6 separate regions of the Homo sapiens genome follow, and regions 1, 2, 3, 4 and 5 are each linked to region 6. The links are contacts of gene promoters, found by promoter capture Hi-C in blood cells and fetal thymus (Javierre and others, 2016). All regions are on one chromosome and are shown on one strand. The core of a region is centred on a gene start or on the middle of the fragment in contact, and the rest is flanking DNA. Distances in the headings are between cores, read along the strand shown.

Evidence for each region. The method cuts DNA at HindIII sites, captures the fragments that hold promoters and counts their contacts. A CHiCAGO score of 5 or more calls a contact.
Region 1: a fragment that was not itself captured here is called in contact with the fragment with the promoter of FBXO7 in region 6 in 1 of 17 cell types (M1 macrophages); the score reaches 5.2 in M1 macrophages.
Region 2: a contact is called between a fragment that was not itself captured here and the fragment with the promoter of FBXO7 in region 6, in 11 of 17 cell types (naive CD4 T cells, total CD4 T cells, activated CD4 T cells and 8 more). The highest score is 15.3, in naive CD4 T cells.
Region 3: a fragment that was not itself captured here is called in contact with the fragment with the promoter of FBXO7 in region 6 in 2 of 17 cell types (naive CD4 T cells and total CD4 T cells); the score reaches 5.3 in naive CD4 T cells.
Region 4: a fragment that was not itself captured here is called in contact with the fragment with the promoter of FBXO7 in region 6 in 1 of 17 cell types (naive CD4 T cells); the score reaches 5.9 in naive CD4 T cells.
Region 5: a contact is called between a fragment that was not itself captured here and the fragment with the promoter of FBXO7 in region 6, in 3 of 17 cell types (erythroblasts, M1 macrophages and M0 macrophages). The highest score is 7.0, in erythroblasts.

The regions. Positions count from the first base shown.
Region 1 is chr22:32,837,285-32,840,177 of GRCh38, reverse strand. The region is part of intron 6 of SYN3 (synapsin III); the gene reads left to right. The region is part of intron 1 of TIMP3 (TIMP metallopeptidase inhibitor 3); the gene reads right to left. Among named protein-coding and RNA genes, the nearest start is that of TIMP3, 37 kb to the right of the region's middle. The HindIII fragment of the contact is 1,043 bases long and covers 1,028-2,070 here.
Region 2 is chr22:32,136,883-32,139,613 of GRCh38, reverse strand. No RefSeq gene overlaps it. Among named protein-coding and RNA genes, the nearest start is that of C22orf42, 21 kb to the left of the region's middle. The HindIII fragment of the contact is 8,725 bases long and covers 1-2,731 here.
Region 3 is chr22:32,211,810-32,214,642 of GRCh38, reverse strand. The region is part of intron 2 of SLC5A4-AS1 (SLC5A4 antisense RNA 1); the gene reads right to left. Among named protein-coding and RNA genes, the nearest start is that of SLC5A4-AS1, 8.1 kb to the right of the region's middle. RefSeq lists an enhancer at 2,040-2,541. The HindIII fragment of the contact is 3,566 bases long and covers 1-2,833 here.
Region 4 is chr22:32,195,377-32,198,076 of GRCh38, reverse strand. All of the region lies in intron 2 of RFPL2 (ret finger protein like 2), which reads left to right. Among named protein-coding and RNA genes, the nearest start is that of RFPL2, 8.3 kb to the left of the region's middle. The HindIII fragment of the contact is 3,731 bases long and covers 1-2,700 here.
Region 5 is chr22:32,815,201-32,817,900 of GRCh38, reverse strand. All of the region lies in intron 6 of SYN3 (synapsin III), which reads left to right. All of the region lies in intron 1 of TIMP3 (TIMP metallopeptidase inhibitor 3), which reads right to left. Among named protein-coding and RNA genes, the nearest start is that of TIMP3, 15 kb to the right of the region's middle. The HindIII fragment of the contact is 7,068 bases long and covers 1-2,700 here.
Region 6 is chr22:32,473,456-32,476,186 of GRCh38, reverse strand. It overlaps FBXO7 (F-box protein 7), which reads right to left and starts at 1,376. Exons shown (of 9, transcript NM_012179.4): 1 at 1,063-1,376. The coding sequence starts at 1,184. RefSeq lists enhancers at 860-1,029, 615-1,115, 1,284-1,453, 1,116-1,616, 2,342-2,401 and silencers at 786-1,095, 1,106-1,295. The HindIII fragment of the contact is 4,456 bases long and covers 1-2,731 here.

The DNA of each region.
Region 1 (2,893 bases), core at 300-2,799, 360 kb before region 6:
ATCTGGAAAGCTGCAAATCATTTCAACCCAAGTTTCCATCTCAGGGAAAGCTATTAAACCTGGAGGATATGAAAACCTCCCTGCCCAGAGATTCCTGTTTCTCAGTACCTGCCTTGTGTTCCGGGGTCCCCAGGGCAGGTCTGTCCTGGGGATGCCCTGTCCTGGACCTCCCGGGGAAGGGGAGGAGGGGCCTTTGTGAGCTCCTGGCTCTCCTCACCTTGTGAGCAGGATGGGTTTCTGCTTGAGCGGTCTGGGAAAAACTCAGGGCCCCTGCTGACGTCTGTTGTAGATGAAATGAAGGGGCCGGGAAGGGGAGGCAAGGAAACACAGGCTTAGGAAGGTCAGGCTTCCTGGAACTTTGAGATTACCCAAAAGAACACAACACAAAATTAGCATCCCATGCTGGCCTTCATGTGTTAAGGGGCAACCTCAGTTTTACACAATGAAATGACAAAATTTAAGAGTCGCTCCTTCTAGGTATATGCCTGGACTTGGGATGAATGCATTTGATGTTTAATCTAACTGCTTAAAGTCAGCCACTCTTGATTTCTTCCTGGGGCCACCAGCAATTTGGAAGAAAGGTACAGATACCTTGGCCTGGGACAGGGCAAAAGTCCTAGGGCTGGCTGATTCCTGGATTCAGGGCCGACTTACCTGGGGAGGGAGGACTGTGAATCTCAGAAGGGTGATGGTGTTTCTGTGACCTGGGTTTCTAAGGGTCCAATGAGGCGACTACCTCAAAGTGTTCACCAAGCATGATTAGAATCCCTGAGGCTTTTACTCTGCAAATGGCTGTCAGGTGGGAAATGTCAAAGCCCCAAAGGATAGACAGTGGGAAACACAGTCCTTCTCCCCTAAGTCCCCCACATTCTCCCAGGAACAAATGGGATCCACAACCCTCATTTACATCCTCACCTACACCTCCCTTGGGTTTGCAGTATCTACAGGATTATTCTGCATAGCTCGGTGGCATATATATGGCTCTTCAGAGCTGGGACCATACCTCAAACCCTATCACTCTGAAGCTTCCAGCCCCCATCACTATATGAACCTGTCCTATGATGCCCCTTGCCTAGGTGAGAATCACTTCCTCCCTGTGCATCTGCCTGCACCTTTGGCTTCCTGCAAGACCCACCCAGCTGAAATGCTACCTCCTCCAGGAAGCCTTCTGTCCACCCCAGGCCAAGCTAGTCCACCTCTCTTCTGCTTGGCTTTCCTCTCTTTCTTCCAGCACGTGTTCTTTAATGATTGGTTCCTTGGACACTCACTAGCATCGCTAATTACCGGATGGCAGGGACTGCATCTGGGACTCCAGCACATGGCATAGAGCCTAGATTGTGGCCAGGGTTCCCAAAAATGTTGAATGAATGAATGAATGAGGCTGTGGGAGGGAACCAAAGGTAATACAATAACGAAGACGGGGATGGTTTTGTGTTTGGCTTCCTGGAGTGCTGGGTCAGGAGTCCTTGTTCCATAGAGTTACTCAGAAAAGGAAGGGACAAGTAAAAATGTGATCTGGAGAGGCCGAATACCGACATTGTTCCAAAATATTGAAGACTGACCTCCAAAAAGAGGCAAGTCACAGGACCCTATTACAGGAGACCCCCATGAACTTGTTGATGTGTCTGTGGAAGGACAGCACCCAAAAGCTACCAACACATGAAGATCCCAAGGCTCAGCACCCTCAAGGAAGTCAGTGGTGACACCAAAATTAGCCCCAGGGAGTCTCCACCCAAGGCACTCCTTGCTAGACCTGCTGACTCCTCTGCAGGCCCTCTGGCCTCCAGCTGCCCCTCTTCCTTGTGGTAGCACTCAGGAAATATGAAGAGCATGGCAGGCTGTTTATCCAGGCCCCATCTCCAGGTCCTGTGTCCCTCTCTGCCATAGTGTTTATTGTTTGTTTTATTTTGCCACCCCCCCTCCTTCTCCTCAAGTCCACTTGAAATTCATTGATTCACTCATCTGATATTTATTCAGAAGTATTTGAGGAACTATGCATCTCAGATCCTGTGCCATGTCTTGGGGATTCAGTAATAAGCAGGCAGACAAGGTTCCTACCTTTAAGAAGCTTATTTTACTCTTGTGAGACAAGAAGACAGGGAGTTATAGTCCAGGGAGCCACAGGAGCATGCAGCAGACACACCCAGCCAGCCTGGAGGCGCCGGAGGGAGACATCCTGCCTGAGCTGGGATCAGAGAATCACTAGAGACAGTTAAGAGAAAGAGAAAGGAGAGGACCTTCTGGTCATGGTTGGGCAGAGGCCCGGAGGCTGGAGAGTCCAGCCCATTGGAGAGACAGAAAACAGAGAGTCCAACAAAGTACAGGGGTGCCTTGCAGTGGGCGGTAACTCCCAGCTTGGTAGGTTGGGTCTTGCTCCAACATGGGACAGTGCCATTTCTTAGGTGGGCTTCTACTCCCTGAGGCTAGTGATAAAGACTTATCACTCTGTCACTGCCCATAGACTTTAGGATTGCATGTATCCAAATGGGTGTCCAAACAGTCCATTGACAGGAGGCCCCCGAAGCCCCAAGAAACCCCTAGAAACAAGCCTGGGTCTTTGCATCAGAACCACAAATGATCTCATTCCAGTGCACATCCCATTTCTAATCTTCAACGTTAGTATTTCATGCATCTCTGTCTCCCGCCGTACCCTGTCTCCCCTCAAGCCCTTTCACCTCTTGGAGTGGTTTCGCCCTGGGTGTTTTGGCTGGGCATCTGTGCTGTGCTCTGAGGAGACATCAAGTTTAAGGGGGCATGCTGACCTCTCAAAAGCTCAAGCCCACTCAGGGGTCAGAGGCGCCGACTTGCTTACTGCCATGCAAGTGCACTCGGTGAGGGGGGCTGAGACCACCCCCTATCCCCTGAGAGTGCTCCAGCCTCTCCACGGGGGCCC
Region 2 (2,731 bases), core at 178-2,677, 340 kb after region 6:
GTCAAAGAGCAGGTTAGCGCTTTAAGAAAAATCTGTTGTGTTTTTATTTTAATGTCCAGTTCACAGAAAAACTGGATGATACCCCTTTAACTTTAGCCAATATGTTTACACACAGAATTTTCTTTACAATTAATGTTTCAAAACTTGCTTAAACCTTCAAAACAATTTTTGTAACCTTTTAATGTAGGTAAAAATCCACATTCTTATGCTTCCTTATAATCCTTTTACCAAAGGCATATTTTACTTTCCTTATATACCTTGCACATAAACTGTTTCTTCAACAGTTTTACATTCAGGAGGATAATTAATTTAAATTATACAACATTTCTTGCATAAATTTCTTTTTCTAACACTTTTTTTCATGATTTTCACAGACAATTCTTCGACATGTCTCAACTTTCTGACTTATTGGAAACATCCCTTTCCTTAAACAACTAGTTAATTTATTTCAGGACAAGAATTTTCCATATAACATTCCTTTTTATATAAATTCTGCACCCCCACTTTTTTTCTTTTTTCTTTTTTTCGAAGATGATAACCATTCTTTTCCAAAGCAAACTTCCTTCAGGTCTGTGGACTAGACTGTCTAAGGCCACAGATTAGAAGTTACTATCATACACGTTACACTGTTAACTTTTAGCAAAACAACTTTACTTTTGTTGAAAACCTTGTAAGTGTGGGATTTCAATTATCCTTTGCTATTAATAAGACTTTGTTTAGTCCAGATTAACTTAGAATTGGTATAGATGGCTTTTTTTTTTCCTGGTTCTGTAAGTACTTCAAGGCTTGGCTGGGTGGCAAAGTTGAGCAGACCAATTATTAGGCAATTTTCCTAACTCTACTTCTACAAGAGTTTTCCTCAATTACAAAATACCCATTGTGGTTTTTCTCCTTAATCACCTGGGAGGAACTATCTATCATCCTGTCCTGAAGGTAGTTCCTCCTAGGTCTGGTCGGATCTTTGTATGGTAATTAAGATTTAAATTCCCTGTTAGGAAATCTTCTGGGTTAAGGGAATTTTCAGGGGTTTATGTTAAATCATCTTTTTCTAACGGAGTAGCCCCATACTTTAAGATTTTTGAGTTATTAAGCTACCTTTTTGCTTTTTTTTTTTTAACTTAGGATACTTCTGAACTGGTGAGGTGTGCTCACAATGAGGTTTCCTCTAAAAGTTATTTTTCTACTTTCTTCTGTCAGCAAAGCAGTTGCCGCTACAGACTGAATGCATTCGGGCCACCCGTGGGTTAATGGGTTCAAGGAATTCACACCAAATCAGAATCAAAACCAAAACCAAAGTGCAGATAAAGGACACGCCCGTTCGTCAAGCAATTTAAACCAAGTCAAAACCAAAACCAAAACCAAAACCAAAGTGCTGATAAAGGCACGCTGTGGGTGATCAGGCCATGCTTCCACTCAAATGGAGTGGACAAGTTCCCAAGACAGGTCCTGTCAAGCAATTCAAGTCAAAATCGAAACCAAAACCAAAGTGCCGATAAAGGCACGCCCATTTGTCAAGTAATTCAAACCAAGTCAAAATCAAAACCAAAACCAAAGTGCCGACAAAGGCACGCCCGTTTGCCAAGGAATTCAAACCAAGTCAAAATCAAAACCAAAACCAAAGTGCCGATAAAGGCACTCTGTGGGTGATCAGGCCATGCTTCCACTCAAATGGAGTGGGCAAGTTCCCAAGACCAGTCCTACCATGTTCCAGATATACGGACTCCAAGCGCCAGTTCCCTCCCGGTGCTCAGCCACTGCATTGATCCTCTGCTGGGGCCTGCCATGCACTGCTCTGACAAGGCATTCCACCGGGGCAAATGCCTACCCAGGAGCATGCTCAGGATCCACGTAGCTCAAGCTGGCCAGAGTCCCCTGCAGGGATGCTCCACAGGGCAAGCCTAAGCCACCTAAGGGGCTGCTTCACTTCCCGGTCAGGGAACCAAGAAATGTAGCAGGATGAGCCACAGACAAAACTCCTCAGACACCGGGTTAAAGAAGGAAGAGGCTTTATTAGGCCGGGAGGTCAGCAGACTTGCGTCATAAGAACAGAACCGAGCTCCCCAAAGAAAGAGTTCCTGGCCCTTTTAAGGGCTTACAACTCTAAGGGGTCCACGTGACAGGGTCGTGATAGACTGAGCAAGCATGGGGTACATGACTAGGTGGGGGTAAGCAAGGCAAGTATTTCTCCACACCATTGTCTGTGATCTATAGATAGCACAAGCGATTAGGGTGGGGGTTAATCTTCAGCCTACAGGCTAAAGCAACACCAGAGAGGATGGAAGTGAGACCCCTGGAGTTGTGGTTGTGGTCAGATTGGACCTTCCCGTGGCTGCTGAGACTCTGGGGCATTGGGGATACCTGAGGATGCCTCCCTGCTCTTACTTTGTGGTCACCAAGAGATCAGGGTTACCACAACCCTATAACGTAGAGAATCCCTGTCCCCTTCCATGCCACTTCACTCCTTAGGGAAGCAAACGCCCTCCCAGGAGCTCATTCCCATTCCTGGGCCACAATCAAAGGGAAAACCTGATCCAGACATGAATTTCCTTGGGCCTCTGCATTTCCAGACATCCTGTCATTGTATGCATGGGGCTGACTGTCTCATCTCAGCTTCAGAAGCGCAGGCAGAGTTGTGGACACCCTGCTGAGCAAATGCCCACCGGAGTCAGGGGTTCAGCTTTCCTGCACCACAGCTGCAGGTGGGGGCTGGGGAGGGGGGCATAGGGGGTCC
Region 3 (2,833 bases), core at 115-2,614, 260 kb after region 6:
CTGGGCCAAAGAAATCCTCCTGCCTCTGCCTTCCAAGTATCTGGGACTACAGGCACATGCCACCACACCCTATTTTTTTCAGAGATGGGATCTTGCCATGTTGCCCAGGCTGGTCTTGAACTCCTGACTTCAAGTTACTCACCTCAGCCTCCCAAAGCGCTGGGATTACAGGCATGAGCCACTGCATCCAGCCAACAATTCCCCTTCAGATGGACATTCAAGTTAAGTACTCTTTGCCACCACAAATAGTGTTGTAGCAATCATCTTTTACACTGGATGGTTTCATTTCTACAGGACAGAATCTTTGTAGTGGTATAACTTAGCCATAGCTATGTTTACTTACACTTTTAATAGATACTGATTAGTTACTTTCCAAAAAGTTGAAGCAATTCACATTCCCATCAACAGGGAACAAGCAGGAGGACCGTTTCCCCTGCAGGCTCAGTAGCAACAAAAGTTGTTGCTTTTTCAAAAAATATATATATCTTGCTAATTCCCTTGGTGAAAAATCTCACAGGAGTGCTAACTAATCAGTTATTTTAACTTCAATTAGTTGCCTATTTATAACCTTTTCCTATTTTTCTATCAAGTGGTTTAAGGTGAGGAACATTCTTAAAACAGGAAACCTAAAAATAATAAACACATTTTGTATATCAAAAGGCAGTGCAAATGAAATTGAAAATGTGGAGTCCAAAAGATATTACAAAACAGGAAAAAAAGAGCTCCCATAAATAAATGAGAAAGAGACAAGTAAGCCTAACTGTTGAACTGCATTTGGATAGGAAGAAACAGACTTGGGCTTCCCTGCTATATATATAGATATATATGTATACATATATAGATATATATATCCATATATATGTATAGATATATATGTATACATATATAGATATATATCCATATATATGTATAGATATATATGTATACATATATAGATATATACATATATGTATAGATATATATGTATACATATATAGATATATACATATATGTATAGATATATATGTATACATATATGTATACATATATAGATATATATGTATACATATATGTATATATATACACACATACATATATAGTGTGTATATATATAGTGTGTGTATATATAGTGTGTATATATAGTGTGTGTATATATATATATAGTGTGTGTGTGTGTGTGTGTGTGTGTGTATATATATAATATAACCTCCTTGGAATAGACAATGTCTTCATACAGAGGACACAAAAATTACCAATCATAGGAGAAAAAAGCAATATATTGAACTACATCAAAATTGAAAACTTCTAGCCAACAAAAGTCACCTTAAAGGAAATGACCAAACAACCCACAAAATAACTGAAAATACTTAGAGTACGCACACGTCTGACAAAGGAGTTGTATCCGGAATAAAAAGACCAACAGGCCAACTTTAAAACTCAAAAAAAAAAATGACACTTGGAGAAGAGCTTCAAGGTGACTGACTAGAGGTGCCCAACATTCGTCTCCTCCACAAAGAAGGAGCAAAACAGATAATCACATGTCAAATAGAGCATCTAACAGAGAATGCTGGAATTCAGCGGGGAAGTGACAGAACCATCCGAGATATGGAAGGAGAGAAAAGCAAGACCAGATGAGCTCCCCAGTGCAGGGGAAAAGGTAAGTGAGAGATTCCCAGGGGTCCACATTCCCACCACAGATTCCTGCAACCCTGGCCATGGGAGAGCCCCTCAGCTCTTGTGGGCCCTGAGACAGCATAGGATGCTGCCTGTACTTGTCCACGCAATGGCATTGTTCCAGAGGGAGTCGTGCTGGGTACCACACACACACTTTAGATCCAAGAAGCTCCAGCACGTGCCATTTTGAGAGCCCAGACCCCATGAGGATTGCCTCTTGCCCTGGGGCCCAACAGCCCTGCATCTCCACATCCCTAGAGCCCCCCTGACATCTCCCCTTATCCACTTAGAGGGCTACAGCAGCATGATGCCGGCTAGACCAGCGGTTTGACCGCGTCTCCAGCACTCTAGCCCACACAAGAGTCCTACACCCCAGGGAATGGGCAATGCAGTGCACCAAGGAGGCCAGCTCCATGACAAAGGAAACCCAAGTGCATGAGCCTGAGAGCCATCTGCCTGTGGCTGCTGCCACTGACAGCAACCCCACATCCCACCCCCAGCAGCAGGGCTGACACAAAATTGCACGTACCTTCATTGTGTCTGGGAACCAGCCCACCCAGATACTGTCCCAGGGCTTGAGGGAAGACTTGCCCCACTCGCCGCCGCTGCACTTCCAGGCAAGCACCTGGGAGCCTGAGGATTGTTCTGTCCCACCTGCTGCCATGGGCACAGGCAAGAACCATCAGGAGGCCCGCCAGCAGACCCAGCGCCACATTGTGACACAGGCTCATACAAAAACCCCTCCCTGGGATGCCCCTACCCCCAGCCCCCACTGCAGCTGTGAGGAAGGAAGCTCTGGCCACTCCCCCTGGTGGCATCTGCTCATTGAGTCCACACACCCCTCACCCTCACCCCCACAGATAAGGGGACAAGTGACATCCTGTGACCAGCAGCAGGATCCCTGGAGGACATCGGCGTCTTGGGTTTGGTTTTCCCACCAACCATCATGTAGTCATGGGGATGAGTTTATCAGAGGGCATTTATGCCACTAGGAGGAATTTTCATGGACAGGGATACCTGGTCTCCCTGGGGGAGTTGACTCAACACTGATTGCTTGGTGATACCATGGGGTGATGCAGACAGTACCCTCTCCCTCCAGGGAGAAGCTGGTTACCCTAGAGTGCAGTGTCCTGGGAACCTTCCCATTAACCTAGCCCTGACTCCAGGAGTTTCAGCCCCA
Region 4 (2,700 bases), core at 17-2,516, 280 kb after region 6:
TGGGAAGGTCCAATCTGACCACAACCACAACTCCAGGGGTCTCCCTTCCATCCTCCCTGGTGTTGTCTTAGTTTGGGATGGGTCTTGCCAGGTACTAGTAAGAAAGTCCAGCCTCAACCTCCAGGGAGAAGTTGGAAGCAAGCCCCTATCACCCTCTCAGGGTCTCATGTTCATTTTGGGTGTGTTTGGAGTGTCTGACTCAAAAGGACTATGTAAGTAGCAGCCGGAGTGTGATCTCTAAATCCCACTTCCAACCCAAAAGTCCATCAATGATAGACTGGATTAAGAAAATGTGGTACATATGCACCATGGAATACTATGCAGCCATAAAAAAGGATGAGTTCATGTCCTTTGTAGGGACATGGATGAAGTTAGAAACCATCATTCTGAGCAAACCAACGCAAGGACAGAAAACCAAACACTGCATGTTCTCACTCGTAGGTGGGATTTGAACAATGAGAACACTTGGACACAGGGTGGGGAACATCACACACCAGGGCCTGTCGTGGGATGGGGGGACAGGGGAGGGATAGCATTAGGAGATATACCTAATGTAAACGACGAGTTAACGGGCGCAGCATATGGCACATGTATACGTATGTAACAAACCTACATGTTGTGCGCATGCACCCCAGAATTTAAAGTATAATAATAAAAAAAAATGAAGTAAAAAAAAAGAAAAAAAAAAGAACTTGGCTTCTGGACTGTGGGTGTGAGGAAAGAAAAGCTCTTTGCAGCCAGCACTGTGCCTTTAACCACCCTCTGGGTCAGTCCCGGGCTATGCAGGGTAGGCATTTTCCTGGATATGTGTATGAGAATGATTTCCTTTTATAACATTAATGATGGGACTCATATCTTTACATTCACTAAGATTTCTGCTGCAGAGCCACTGTGCCCATTTTTTGCTTTTGCAGATTCAATTATCAATGACCAAATCTTCCTGAGTATCTGTCCTGTGATTAATCTGGGCATTGACAAACCTATAGTTTCTCCTGAGCAGGGCAAATAAACTTTTAGCCACAAAACTATTTAGACAGTTACTTTATGCCCAATGCTAGAAACTTTTCTGCTTGGTACAAGATAATGGAACAAAGTTACAGCAGAAAAATATGGAACATCTCAAACCATGAATGTCAATTAAGCAGATTAATAAGAAATTGCCTTTTAAATACTAAAAAGTAGTGTTACAGTTGTCCTTTGGGTTTTACGGACTGTGGCTCCGTGTCCCTCCCACACCTGTCCGAGTGGCTTTTGCTGGCTCTCTGTGCCCTGGCTGCCTCACCCTGCACTATGCTGCTGTCTCATTGACATCACATCTCTTCTGCAAATCTATCTTGCTGTCTGTTCCTTCTTCCCTGGAGCAGCTGAAAGGATCATCTTGTGAATTTGGTTCTTTTCATAAGTCATTCTCACACTCTTTACATTGTATCCAGCCTGGTTTTGGCAGAAAGTTTTTCTCACACAGAGGATAAACCAGGACTGGACTCTGTCTTTACATGTGGATGTGGAGTGACCCAGAATCCAGCAAAGAGCAAACCCCAAATGATTGCTTTATGACCGGATCCAATTCATTCTAATCACGTAAAGTTAACCTGGCTCCCTACACACTGTCTCCCAAGCCTTGTTTTCTTGCTCAGACACTGAATCCCGAGGAGTGATCTCATCCCACTGTAAATCATTTTTTAATAGAACTAAATGTAGGTCTTTTAAAAATATATATACAAAGAAAAAAATCTTCATTTAATATGTGATACACTTTAGGAGAGGGAAATAGATTATATTCAAGTTATTTGAAATTTGAAAACAAAGCTGTTATTTTATGAATTAAGTACAAATTAATCACTAACCTGGCCATTTCCACGATACCTGCAGATTCATCACTTCTCTGGGTCAAGACCTGAGTCTCAGCCTGGAGGACATTATGTTAAGCAAAATAAATCAGGACCAGAAAGATAAATACCGCATGTTCTCACTCCTATATGGGAGGTAAAAGAAAAATGCTGAGCTCACAGAAGCAGAGCATAGAATTGTGGGTATAGAGGCTGGGAGGGTAAGGGGCAGGGGAGCTTGGGGAGAGGTTGGTTATTGGATACAGAATTACAGCTAGATGGGAGAAATGGGCTTTGGTGGAGGCTGGGAAGGGTAAGAGGGAGGGGAGCTTGGGGAGAGGTCGGTAATTGAATATAAAATTACAGCTAGATGGGAGAAATGGGCTCTAGCACAACTGTGGGGTAAATATGGTCACTTATACATGATTGCATATTTTCAGAAAGTTAAGAGGATTCTGAAGGCTCCCATCACAAAGAAATAATAAATGTTGGCCGGGCGCGGTGGCTCACACCTGTAATCCCAGCATTTTGGGAGGCCAAGGCGGGCGGGTTACCTGAAGTCAGGAGTTCAAGACCAGCCTGGACAAAATGGTGAAACCCCGTCTCTACTAAAAAAAAAAAAAAATTAGCCAGGCATGGTGGCACATGCCTGTAATCCCAGCTACTCAGGAGGCTGAGGCAGGAGAATTGCTTGAGCCCAGGAGCCGGATGTTGCAGTGGGCCAAGTTTGTGCCACTGCACTCCAGCCTGGCTGACAGAGCAAGACACTGTCTCAAAAAAAAAGAAAAAAGAAAAGAAAGAAATGTTTAGAGTGTGCTAATTATCCTGACTTGATTATTATACATGCATGTATCAAAATATTACTGTGTGC
Region 5 (2,700 bases), core at 137-2,636, 340 kb before region 6:
ATCTGGCCCAGACGACCAGGGGACCAGGGTGGGGTTGCACCGGTATGTCCCCTACTGTTCATTACCTGCTCGCAGGGTGCCTGCCCCATGGACCTTCAATCAGAAACATCTCACCTTCACACTCACCACAATGTCCTTCAATCATGTCCTTAACGGTATAAACAAGATCCTAGGATTTAAAAATCTGATGTGTGCCCAGAACTGAGCCAAGCAAGATTATAAAACAAGTCATGACCACAGGAAGGAACTTTAAATCTGGCAAATGTGTGACCTTGAAGGTCAGCCTTCCCTTCCTCCTTTTTCTTCTGGTCCCTACAAAGCACCCACTGGCACCACTACAGCCATTTCTGTTTGGCAACCCTAGGAGAGCAGCTTCCCTGTGTAATGCAGATGATACTTCCTAATTTCTTCTTCCCTACTCAGCAATCACAATGGCAGGCAAGTGGGCAAAAGGGGTTTTCAGAATCCTCATCTGGGCAGTGTCTCACCAACTGCATTTGTAGGTGCTTCTTGGGAAAATTAGTTCCTTGGCTAGATATGTTCAGAGAACACTGGATTAAACAGAGCTAAACAGGTCACCATGCAGCAGGACTTCTCAGAGCTTTTACTATGCTAATAGCCACATGTCTCTCCAAGAGGGGAATACAATAAACAGCTCTCCCAAATAACATTTTTTTTTTTTTGAGATAGAGTCTTGCTCTGTCACCCTGGCTGGAGTGCAGTGGTACAATCATGGCTCACTGCAGCCTCAACCTCGTGGACTCAAGCGATTCTCCCACCTAAGCCTCAAGAGTAACTGGGACTACAGGCCCAACCACCTTTTCTTTTTTTTTTTTTTAAATTAGTAGAGACAGGGAATCTTACTATGTGACCCAGACTGGTCTTCAATTCCTGGGCTCAAGCGATCCTCTCGCCTCAGCCTCCCAAGGTGGGGTTATATGCGTGAGCCGCTGTGCCCGGCTCCAAAGAACATTTCTTAAGATTGGTGGTGCAAGGATCACACCTTGAGAAACACTGATTTAGGCCTTCCCACAGTACAAAGAAATGTTGCCTGCCCCATCCTTACAGCACACCTGATGACTTACAAGAGGTGCTGCTGAATTCCTCCCAGGGAAGCGACCTTAATTCTTCTCAGCAAGACAAGGAGGCAGCCTTCAGGAAGGACCCAGGAGCTTGGTATTAGAGGATGATCCAAGTCTGATGGCAAATTTAGAGTGCTCCAGGGAACACTGAAGTCTTGATGATAGGGCAAAAGGGAGTGATTCCATCTTTCTAACCTGGCAGGATAGCAGGTAACAAGACAGAAATAAGGAAAAAGCAAGCTGAACTTGTCTTTCCCTGACATTTGAACTGCCTGCTGTTCTCCTCACCAAAAATAAAAAAGCTGGTCTCAAGACAACAAAAGTAGAGAAGTAAAGGTAACAGAGGTCTCCAGCCTGCAGGAAGACTCATATAACCTCAGTCCAAAGTTCTTTTTATACAAAGCACAGATTTTTACTGGCTAAGTGCTCACCCAATGACCCATTTTCAGTATTTGTTTATTCCTGTATTTCACCCATGTTTATCGAGCACCTACTGAGTGTGTGGCCCGTAGTCAGGAATGCCCATCAATTACCAGGCAGCAAGGCTATTCTTAGTTTTCTGATGTCTATTTAAAGAGTGTTAATCCTCTGGCCTCCCCCCTACCCCCGCCCCTGCAATTAGACACATACCACTTTCCAACCTGGTACACTGACCTCGCCCAACTGGGAAGGCGGAATGGACAAGTGTTCTTCCCACCCTGCTTAACTTGGCCAAGAATCTGGCTTCATGGGTTAGGGCAGCCTGGGAACCAGCCAAGCCAGAGGAGACGAGCCTGCTTTGCCTGGGCCCTTCAATCAGTGCTGGGGTCAAAAACCTCCCTGTTCTGTTCCTTACTAGTGGCACAGTAAGGCAGAAAGTGTTGAGACTCAAGAGCAGAAAAATCCAGGCTGTCTAGTGGGGCGGTGAAGACCACAGACCACAGAACAGACACACCTGCTCAAATACTAGCTCTGCCATCATGCAGTGGGGTGACCGTGGGCAGAATTGGTGAGATTGCTCGGACTCTGGAGTCAGGAGGTCCGGCTCAAATCTGGCTTCACTATGTAGGTACATACTAGGTAAGTTACCTAGTCTCTCTCAGCTTCAGTATTTTCATCTGCAAAGTGGAATGAGGAGGACAAGGATGATAACACTAATAATTTCTGACATGTATGTTTATAGTAAAGAATAGAATTTATTACATGTATATATGTATATAAAGATCTTAAAATAGCTGTCAACAAATAGTAGCTGCTTTCATATTTAATTCCTCTTAAGTCCCAATTTTTTTCATCTGCAAAGTAGAAATAGGAGTGCCTACCTCAATGAGTGGTTATGAGAGTTTAAAGGAGATAATGCTTTAAAAGGTCTTGGCATATAAAAACAAATCAATAAATGTTAAAATATTATCAAATGGTTATTATTTTTGTTCCAGTTCCATCTCTATCTCTTAAACCAAGCTGCTGTACCTCTTTGGACCTCAGTTTCCCCATCTGTCAAGTGAGAGACCTGGATCAGATGGCTTCTCCAGTGTCACCGCACATGGGTTCCCTGCACTGGGACCCACAAGGCCTAGAAGTTACTTGCAGCAAAGCTGTCAGTAGCCTCTGAGCCTTGGTCAGCCCAAAAGTACCTCGA
Region 6 (2,731 bases), core at 127-2,626:
CTTACTTTCAATCTAATAATGTCTTAACCAGGAAAATGAAAGGGCGAGAAGTTCAGAATAACGGCCTCATTTTACCCAATTCCCTAAAAATAAGGTGAAAACGTAGGAAGGTTTGCTTTTGTTTTGAAGAATTCACCTAAAAATCCCCAGGGAACATCTTTTTCATTTTTCCTTAGCACACTCAAGTTTCAAATTCACTAGCTCAGTATTTGAAGAGGACCACTCTTACCTTGCCGCTTTACTCCCAAATTATTGTCCCCAAAAAGTATCTTTTAGGGAAACAAAGCAGCTTCACCTGCAGTCCCACAAACCAATAACAGAATATGATCCTTTCTCAACTTTACTGCCCCCAAACTGCAAGCTCTCAAGATCAACGTTTGCCTCAGTTTTAGCAAAAAAGCAACATTTCACCCAAGAAAATGAAATGGTCTGAAACACGCCTACACGCTGTCCTTTCTAAAACTTTTCGGCGGCGAAGTCCAAGCGCTCACCGCGGTGCTCGGCGCATGAACACAACAGAATCTAAAATTGTTGCCGCTTCACAGCAGCGATACAAGCTACCGGTGGCCTCGGATTGAGGGCAGATTTTTAACTTCTAGCAATTTCCAAACTTTTTCATTGAAATACTCCAACAGCTGAAGAAATTAACTCGGACCCCTCACAGTCCAGAAAGGTTTAACCCAAGCCAAGCTCATCATTTCCAACTTGAAATCTAACCAGTTGTGGAAATTGTGCGTTCCCTCCTCTCCCTGGTTCCGTTTACTGCAAAACCAGAAGCCATGACTCACCGAGGAGGGGACCAGAGCCCCCGGGAGGCCGGGCCATGTTCTCCAGGAGCCGGACCCCAGCCGACCACCCGCGCTTCCCGTCGCCTGCACCCTCCGGCTCCGCGACGCCCGGAAGAGCCCGGGCCTCCCGTGAAGGCCCCCCCGGCGTCCCCGCACTTGGCCTATCGCCCGGCCACGCCCGCGCCTGCAGCCCACAGATGACGCCAACCCGCCCTGCACCCACCCCAAGCACTCCCCACTCCCCGCGGGCCGCCCAGCCCCGGCCCCAGCGTACCTGTACCCCCAGGTGCACAGCAGGGACTGCCTCAGGTGCGAGCGCAAATGCCCCAGCGTCGGCTCCGTCTCGGGCACCTCCAGCGGCCAGGTCCGCTTCAGAAGCCGCACCCGCAGCCTCATGACGGCGGCAGGCGGCCCGAGGGGCCTGGACCCGGAAGCGGCGACGGGGACGGCGGCGGGGCCGAGCAGCTCCCGCCCCAAACGGCGACGACCCCGGACTGGCGACTACCGGAGCTGAGGGGTAGCTGAGGCGAAACGGGGAAAGAGCCCCGCCACAGTGGCCGCCCTGCCACTCGGTCTCTGGAATAGAGCGCCCGCCCCTCTCCTGAGGGCGCCTCCTGGAGCCGACCCCGAGAGCTGGAGGCGGGCAGGCGGCCTAAAGGAACCGGGCCTCTCGGGGTCGGCCGATCGATGACTCCGCGCGCAACGGCGCTGCCTGAGAGCGCGGGCACAGTGCGCAGGCGCCGAGATGCGGCCGCTCGCTGGCATCCCAGATTTTCCGCGGCGGTGGCTGGGACTCCCAGTACTTACTCCCTGTGTGCGTGGAACAACGGTAGCGCTGATAGGGATGCTGCAGACAGACAATACAGTCGCCACTCCCCAGGACCAAGTGTCACCCCCTTTCTTCCGTGGCCCTCAGTTCCAGCGGCATCTGCTCTGAGAAGCCTTAGGTTAATCCTTAGGTTGGCCGGGCGCGGTGGCTCACGCCTGTAATCCCAGCACTTTGGGAGGCCGAGGCGGGTGGATCGTTTGAGCCCAGGAGTTCGAGACCAGCCTGGGCAACATGGTGAAACCCCCCCCCCCATCTCTACAAAAAATACAAAAAATTAGGTGTGGTGGCGCCTGCCTGTAGTCCCAGCTAGTTGGGTGGCTGAGGCGGGAGGGTCGATTGAGCCCGGAGGTCGAGGCCTCAATGAGCTGTGATCGCACCACTGCACCTCAGCCTGGTTCCACAGAACGAGACCCTGTCTCAAAAAAAAAGTAGAACTATTTGTAGCCAGTAATCTATGTCCGACAGTTTATTAGAACTCTGTGGCTGCATAACAATCACCCCAAAGTTTAACGCAATAAACATTTGTTGTCCCACAGGTTTTAGAGGTAAAGGGATTTGGGGATGCGTGGCTGGGTGGTTCTGTCTCCAGGTCTCCCATGAGATTACAAACTGTAGGCCAGGGCAGCAGTTATTGACTAGGGCTGGAGGATCGGCCTCCAGGATGGCACAGTCATGACTGTTGGCCAGAGACCTGTTTTCACCACGTGAACCTCCCCATAGGGCTGTTTGAGTGTCCCCATGACATGGCAGCTGGCTTCCTTCAGAGCAGGTGATCCCAGAGAGACCAAGGTATAAGCCACAATGTCTTTTATGACCTAGCTCCAGAGGTCACATACGGCTTTTGTCATATTTACAAACCAACCCTATGTGTGAGAGGATCCAGCCAAAGGTATGAATGCCAACAGACAGGGATCGCTGCGGGCCATCCTGGAGGCTGGCTACCATAGAGGGTCTAACTAATGATAACTTAGATGAGAGAGAGTATCAAGTTTCGTCCTTGTGTGATAACCATAGTCCAAATCCTTAGAGTCAAATAAAGTTTCTCCCAATAGGTGGCAGCACTTGTCCACATCCTGCCCTTGATTCTGCAAATAAATATGTATTGATTGCCTAC